Linked DNA regions of Homo sapiens: region 1 is linked to region 2. Evidence: promoter capture Hi-C in 16 types of primary human blood cells and fetal thymus (Javierre and others, 2016). All regions are on one chromosome and are shown on one strand. Each heading gives the region's core, a stretch centred on a gene start or on the middle of the fragment in contact. The rest is flanking DNA. Distances are from core to core; before and after follow the strand shown.

Region 1 (2,988 bases), core at 191-2,690, 1.2 Mb before region 2:
TAAAATTTACCATTAAGTGTCCTTTCATTTCAACCTGAAAGACTCCCTTTAACATTTCTTAGAGTTCGTGAGAATCCTTTCAGTTTTTATCTATTTGGAAACGTCTTAATTTCACTTTCAGTTTTGAAGAAAAGTTTAGCTAAATAGAGAATTACTGGTTGACAGTCTTTTACTTTCAATGTTGAAAATGTCTTCTAGCCTCCAGGGTTTCTCGTAAGTCAGCTATTAAGCCTATTGAGGATTCCTTGTAACAAGTCATTTTTCTCCTGCTACTTTCAAGATTTTTCTTTAAATTCAACTATGATGGGTCTAGGTATGGATCACTTTGGGCTTATTCAACTTGGATTACAGTGAGCTTCTTGGATGTGTAGCACAGAGTAATATTTTTCAGCAAGTTTGGAAAGTTTTCTGCCATTTTTTTTTAAATATTCTTTCTGCCTCATTCTCATCTTCTGGGAATCCTATAATGTCCATGTTGGCACAACATTTAATGGAGTCACATAAGTCTTTTGAGACTCTGTTCATTTTTCTTTCTGATCCTCACATTGAACAATCTCTATTGACCTAACTTCGAGTTAAAAGATTCCTTCATTTGCCAATTTATATCTGTTGTTGAGCTCCTCTAGTGAATTTTTCATTTCAGTTATTATACTTTTAAGCTCCAGAACTTCCTTGTTTTTTAATAATTTCTATCTTTATTGATACTCTTTCTCTGGTGAAACACCATTCTGATGCTTCCCTTTAATTCTTTAGACATGGTTTCATTTAGTTCTTTGAATGTATTTGTAATAGCTAACTTAAAGACTACAAAGTCTAAAATCTAGGCTCCCACAGGGACTTTTTTTGTTCGTTTTTTATTATTTGTCTCTGTGTGTTTTATTTCCTGTTTCTTTGCATTTCTCAATTTTTGTTAAAACTGAACATTTTAGGTAATATATTTTAACAAATCTCATATCAGATTGCTCCACATTATTCCCCTAAATTTTTTAATCATCAGTGTGTTGTTTTTCTTGATGCTGATTCTTTAGTACTTTCATGAACGAATTTTACAGATCCTGTATTCCCCGTAGTGTGTGGCCACCGAGTTCTCTGCTAGAACTTTTTTTTTTTTTTTTTTTAGGATCTTGTTTTTATTTGTAAGCCTGGCTTCCAAGAAGTCATACCTGGACCAGTAAAATGTAGTAGTCAACCAATGATCATTTAAAAGATTTCCTTAAATGCTTTGCCTATATGTCTTCTACCTTTTGCCAAAGAAATCTTCATGAGAAGTCATACCTTCAAACTTCAGGAAGCTTACAAATAGCACTGATTTTCACTTCCTGCTTACACAGTGCCTCAAGATCAGTCAGAGGTGACATTCTCCTTTCCCAGGTCATTTCCGGGCATGTGTACAGACTTGCACATTGTACAGCCTTTTAAATACCCAGGAATATGCCAGAGCTTTCCAAAGTTCCCTATAGTTGGCTAGTTCTCCAGACTTTCCTTTTAAATTCCTGGCCAGATTCTTCCTTTGCCTCAACTGAAATCACAGCCTTAGGCAATTGACATTTTGCCAACAGTTTGCTATTGTTTCAGTAATGCCCTGGGGGTAAGCTTTTTCTTCCCCCAACTGAGCTGAGTTCAGAGTCAAATCAAATATCCAGCCACTCTCTCTGAAAAGAGTTTTCCCAGGGAGCTGCAAGTTGGGACAAAATATTAACTGTGCTCTGGGGATAGTGCCTTCAATGGGGCTCCAGAAGTGGTCAGCTCTCTCCATTGTCTGCAATACTGCCAGCTTTTAGCTACACCACTAAGCTGGAGAGAGAGATGAGAATAACCCCAAGTTAAAATATCGCAGACCCCACTGGTCTTCCCAAGATTCACTAGTTTTCTCTTGGACAGATGATTTTCAATTCATACTCCTGCTTAATTGCCAGAATTCTAAAATGGCTGATTTTCATTATTTTACCCATATTTTTGTTGTTGTATAGGCAGCACAAATTCACTGAGGCCCTCACTCCACCATTCTGGAAGTTGATCAAGTTCTGTAATATTCTGAATTTATAATTTTCAGGACAAAAAGATCTTAACCAAAAAAAACAAACCCTCACTTAGTTTGATTTTTTAAAAATATACTTAAAATTTTTAGATCACTGATTCTTATCTCTAATAGAAACTTATGAAAAAAATCTGTATTTCAGTACTTAAATGAGAGTGAAACAGATCTGTGAGACAGGAAAAAATAAACTGCATAAACAATTTATCACATCTTTCCTGTTAACTAATATGTGAATCATCAAAAACAAAGGTGATTACTGGTCTCAGAGCCACTCTCAGTCCTAAACGGCCTCTCAAATCTTTTGGGGACAACAGAAACAAGTAAAAGTGAGGAGGAAAGCCTAGTCCATCTTGTCTTACTTGGCTGACTGAGGCCAAAACCAACTATACTCTGATAGTAAGAAATTTTTTTAAAACCACAGAAAACTGGAAGTGGGAAATCGACAGAAAAGAAGAATCAGATACTTGACTTAGGAGGCAACCCTATCTCTTGAGATTTCTCTGAAGAGACTCAGAACAGAGATTGAGTTTACCTCAGATTCACCCAAGTATAGGCCAAAATCGCGGGCTTCTGGAAGAGAAAAGAGTTGTTCATTACTATTTCTCTTTTGTTAGCTGGTATTGGCAAGCCAAGGAAAGACCAAAACTGTCAAGGTAGGCCGAGAAAAGTAAACATCTTTTAGCAAGGCTTTTATTTTCAAGAATATTGTCGCATGTTTCTTTTGCTTTTCTTTTGTTGTGTAACAAACCACCCCAAAACTTACTGGCACAACAACCACCATTTTATTTGGTCATAATTCTGCAATCTGAGCAGGGCTCAACTAGGCAGTTCTTACAGTCATCTTGCTGGTGGTCATTCATACTACTGCTTTCAGCCAGCAGGTGAGAAATGAGATCAGCTAGGATACTAGCATGGCTAAGCATCTCTCTCCATGTAATCTCAGAAATTCT
Region 2 (2,990 bases), core at 457-2,956:
AAGAAGACTGAGGAGAAGTAGTGAAAGAGGTAGGAGAAAAACTAACAGCATTAGCGTTTATATAGGGCTTACTTTATGCCAGGCACTATTCAAAGCACTTTGTGGCTTCATGGAAGCAAAGAGAAAAATGTTTTTCTTTTCTTCCTCCCTTTCCAGTCTCTCCTGTGACTTTCACCCCTAAATTCAAAAGGTTTAGGTGCAAAAGTGATTCTCAGCTTTTATTTGTAATTAATTTTATAGTAATCTTGTACTGTTATAATCTTGTACTGTTATAATACTATAATTATAGTATACATTCATTGGAAAAATATTCAAACAGCACAGTACAGGGAAGCTAAATGTGGAAAGTAAAGATCCTCAGAAGCTTTCCTTCCTAGGCTCACCCACCAGAGGTAATCATTAACAGTTTCTTGCATATCCTCCAGGAATGTTCTGCGCAAACACACACACACACACACACACACACACACACACACACGGACGCAAACAAATACCATCCCTCTCTCTTCTCTCTCTGTATACGTACGCATATGTTTAATTCTGCAAGTTGCTTTGTTTAAAACTCAATACCTTTTGGAGGTATTTATATATCAGCATATTCAGATACAATTTACTTTTTTTAAAAAGGGTAATATGCCATTGTATTAATATTCCATACTTTAAGTTCCTCTATCGATGGACAATTAGAATGCTTTTTTTTTTCTTGCCACACACACACAAAAATTGCTGCCAGAAATCTTTGTAGTAAATCTTTGGATATTGGTGCAAAAATAATTGTTGCATACTTTCTTAGTGGTGAAATTGCTGAATCAATCCGCTCAAGCCTCTCATATTGTCAAATTACTCCTCCTAAAAGGTTATACTAATGACATTCTCACATCATTTCCTTACATCTTGGTACACATTTGGTATTAAGCGACTTCACAAGTTTGCCAGTCTAAACACATGGAAAAAAATGGCGTCATGTTGTTTTTATTTGGGTCTCTTTATGAGTAGGGCAGCAAGACCTGATTGTTAAACGTTCAAGTTTTGAAGTTAAACTCCCTGGGTCTGGATCCTACTTCTTCCTTGTAAAATGTGTGATCTCGGGCATGCTGGGTCTACTTCCTCGTCTCAAAAAAAGAGGATAAAGAGAGTACATATCTTTAGGCTTAAACAAGATACGCAGGCATACAGGAAGCCCTTCTTATGCGTTCGCTACTAGCGGTACTGATCCTAATTTTTTTGAAGCCGTGCCGGCTCCGGTACTTTATTTTTGGTGTGCTCCTCCAACCAACCAAGTTTCGCAGAATTCTGTTGTTGCCTGTAATTAGAAATGAGACGAAAATTGGCTCCGCTTGTTCAAAATTCTCCTCCCTCCGCCCCAACTCTGCCTTAGAATCACTGGTTTAAATGTCAATGTAAAGGAATGAGTTGCAATTTTTAAGCAACATGTAAAGTGCACACCTGGTCTGAGTACCTCCCGGCGGCCAGGACCCGCCGTTTTCGGTATAGGGAACACCAGATAACAATATATAACGCTACCTAACAAACGTTTCTCCACCCACAGCGCCATTAGCGGTTAGGTTTGCAGTGCCGAAGAGCTGCAAGAAAACGGGGCTTGAAACAGGAATACAATTGCAGATCCACCCACTACACGCAAAGGGCCCGGGACGCGCCTCCACAGCCCCGCCCCAACCGGAAGTGACGCACCGCGCCGACTATTTCTTCCGCCGTCCGCCGGTGGCGAGGCCCAGGCTGTCGCCGGGTGTGCAGCGGCGTCGCGGCCAGTAGAGGGATTCTGGGTAACGGCCCGGACCCCCGGCTGGGCTTCTGGCTCGGCGCAGCAGGTTCCATTCACGCCAAGTCTGTTGGCAGTGGCAGTTGTAGGGCCAAGGGCGGTTGTAGGACCCGGAGCAGCCGGACATGGAACAACCGTGGCCGCCTCCGGGACCCTGGAGCCTCCCTCGGGCCGAGGGTGAGGCTGAGGAAGAGAGTGACTTCGACGTGTTCCCCAGTTCTCCCCGCTGCCCGCAGCTGCCAGGCGGCGGCGCCCAGGTGAGAAGGGGCCTGCGTTCTGCGGAGGGATGGAGTGGTGCTGTCGCCAAACCCCTGGAATGCCGCGTCTCCCAGACCCTCTTCTACGCCTTTTTCTACGCCCACCTCACTGCCAGGGGCCGGGGACCTGGGACCTGACGCCTGATGCCATCCCACCCCTTTTATGGCATCTTCGGAGGGCAGACGGGGTGGCCATATATTACCAACCTCCACCTCCACGCACATGTTTTCTTTCGCCTTGGCTGATTCCTGTTCACTCTTGGAATACCTTCCTCCATCTCCCCTTCCTGACAGCACTCAGATTTGGGGCGGCTCATGCTGTAACATTGACCCTTTGTCCTCTTGTGAGAGGTTTTCCCCAAGCACTTTATTCTGTTAAAGGCTCTAGCATACTTGTGCACAGTTGCTAGGAACAGTGAATGATTGTAGTTCAGCATCACACTGAGTCCTGACAAAGATTTCACATGCGATTTTCACCGATGTTGACAACTGAGTAAATTCTTTAAATCTCGCTTTTGACGCTGGCGTACACCTCTCCCATTCGCGTGACCATCTTTGCCTTACTGTTTTGTTTTTTAGTTTTGCTTCACGTCATTCTCCAGTGAAAATATATACGCATATACTTGTGTTTTCCTTCAGACTTCTCTTAGGTTCCTGGTATTGTGTTTTCAATCCAGCATTCCTGCCTTCCTGCGACTGAAACGTATCCAAATGTGATATACTATTAAGGATTTTTCAGGGACCTATCTTAGGGGATACTTACATACTCGCATCACCTTGTCCTGTTTTTTTCTCCGAATCCGTGTGTGTTTTGGAAGTATATTTCAGAATCACAGACTAAACACTAATATATTCAATGGATCATAAGTGTCTGCCGCCTTCTTGCAAAATGGGGTTCCCAAGAGTGTAACAGATTTAATAGTAGTTTTCCTCTCAACTTATTTTGCTAGATG

What was found. The method cuts DNA at HindIII sites, captures the fragments that hold promoters and counts their contacts. A CHiCAGO score of 5 or more calls a contact.
Region 1: a contact is called between a fragment that was not itself captured here and the fragment with the promoter of CDC37L1 in region 2, in 1 of 17 cell types (naive CD4 T cells). The highest score is 5.3, in naive CD4 T cells.

Annotation. Positions count from the first base shown.
Region 1 is chr9:3,477,311-3,480,298 of GRCh38, forward strand. All of the region lies in intron 1 of RFX3 (regulatory factor X3), which reads right to left. Among named protein-coding and RNA genes, the nearest start is that of RFX3, 47 kb to the right of the region's middle. RefSeq lists enhancers at 961-2,160, 1,183-1,232. The HindIII fragment of the contact is 301 bases long and covers 1,291-1,591 here.
Region 2 is chr9:4,677,863-4,680,852 of GRCh38, forward strand. CDC37L1 (cell division cycle 37 like 1, HSP90 cochaperone) reads left to right here and starts at 1,707. Exons shown (of 7, transcript NM_017913.4): 1 at 1,707-2,037. The coding sequence starts at 1,906. It overlaps CDC37L1-DT (CDC37L1 divergent transcript), which reads right to left and starts at 1,618. Exons shown (of 2, transcript NR_121598.1): 1 at 1,525-1,618. RefSeq lists an enhancer at 1,841-1,930. The HindIII fragment of the contact is 3,086 bases long and covers 363-2,990 here.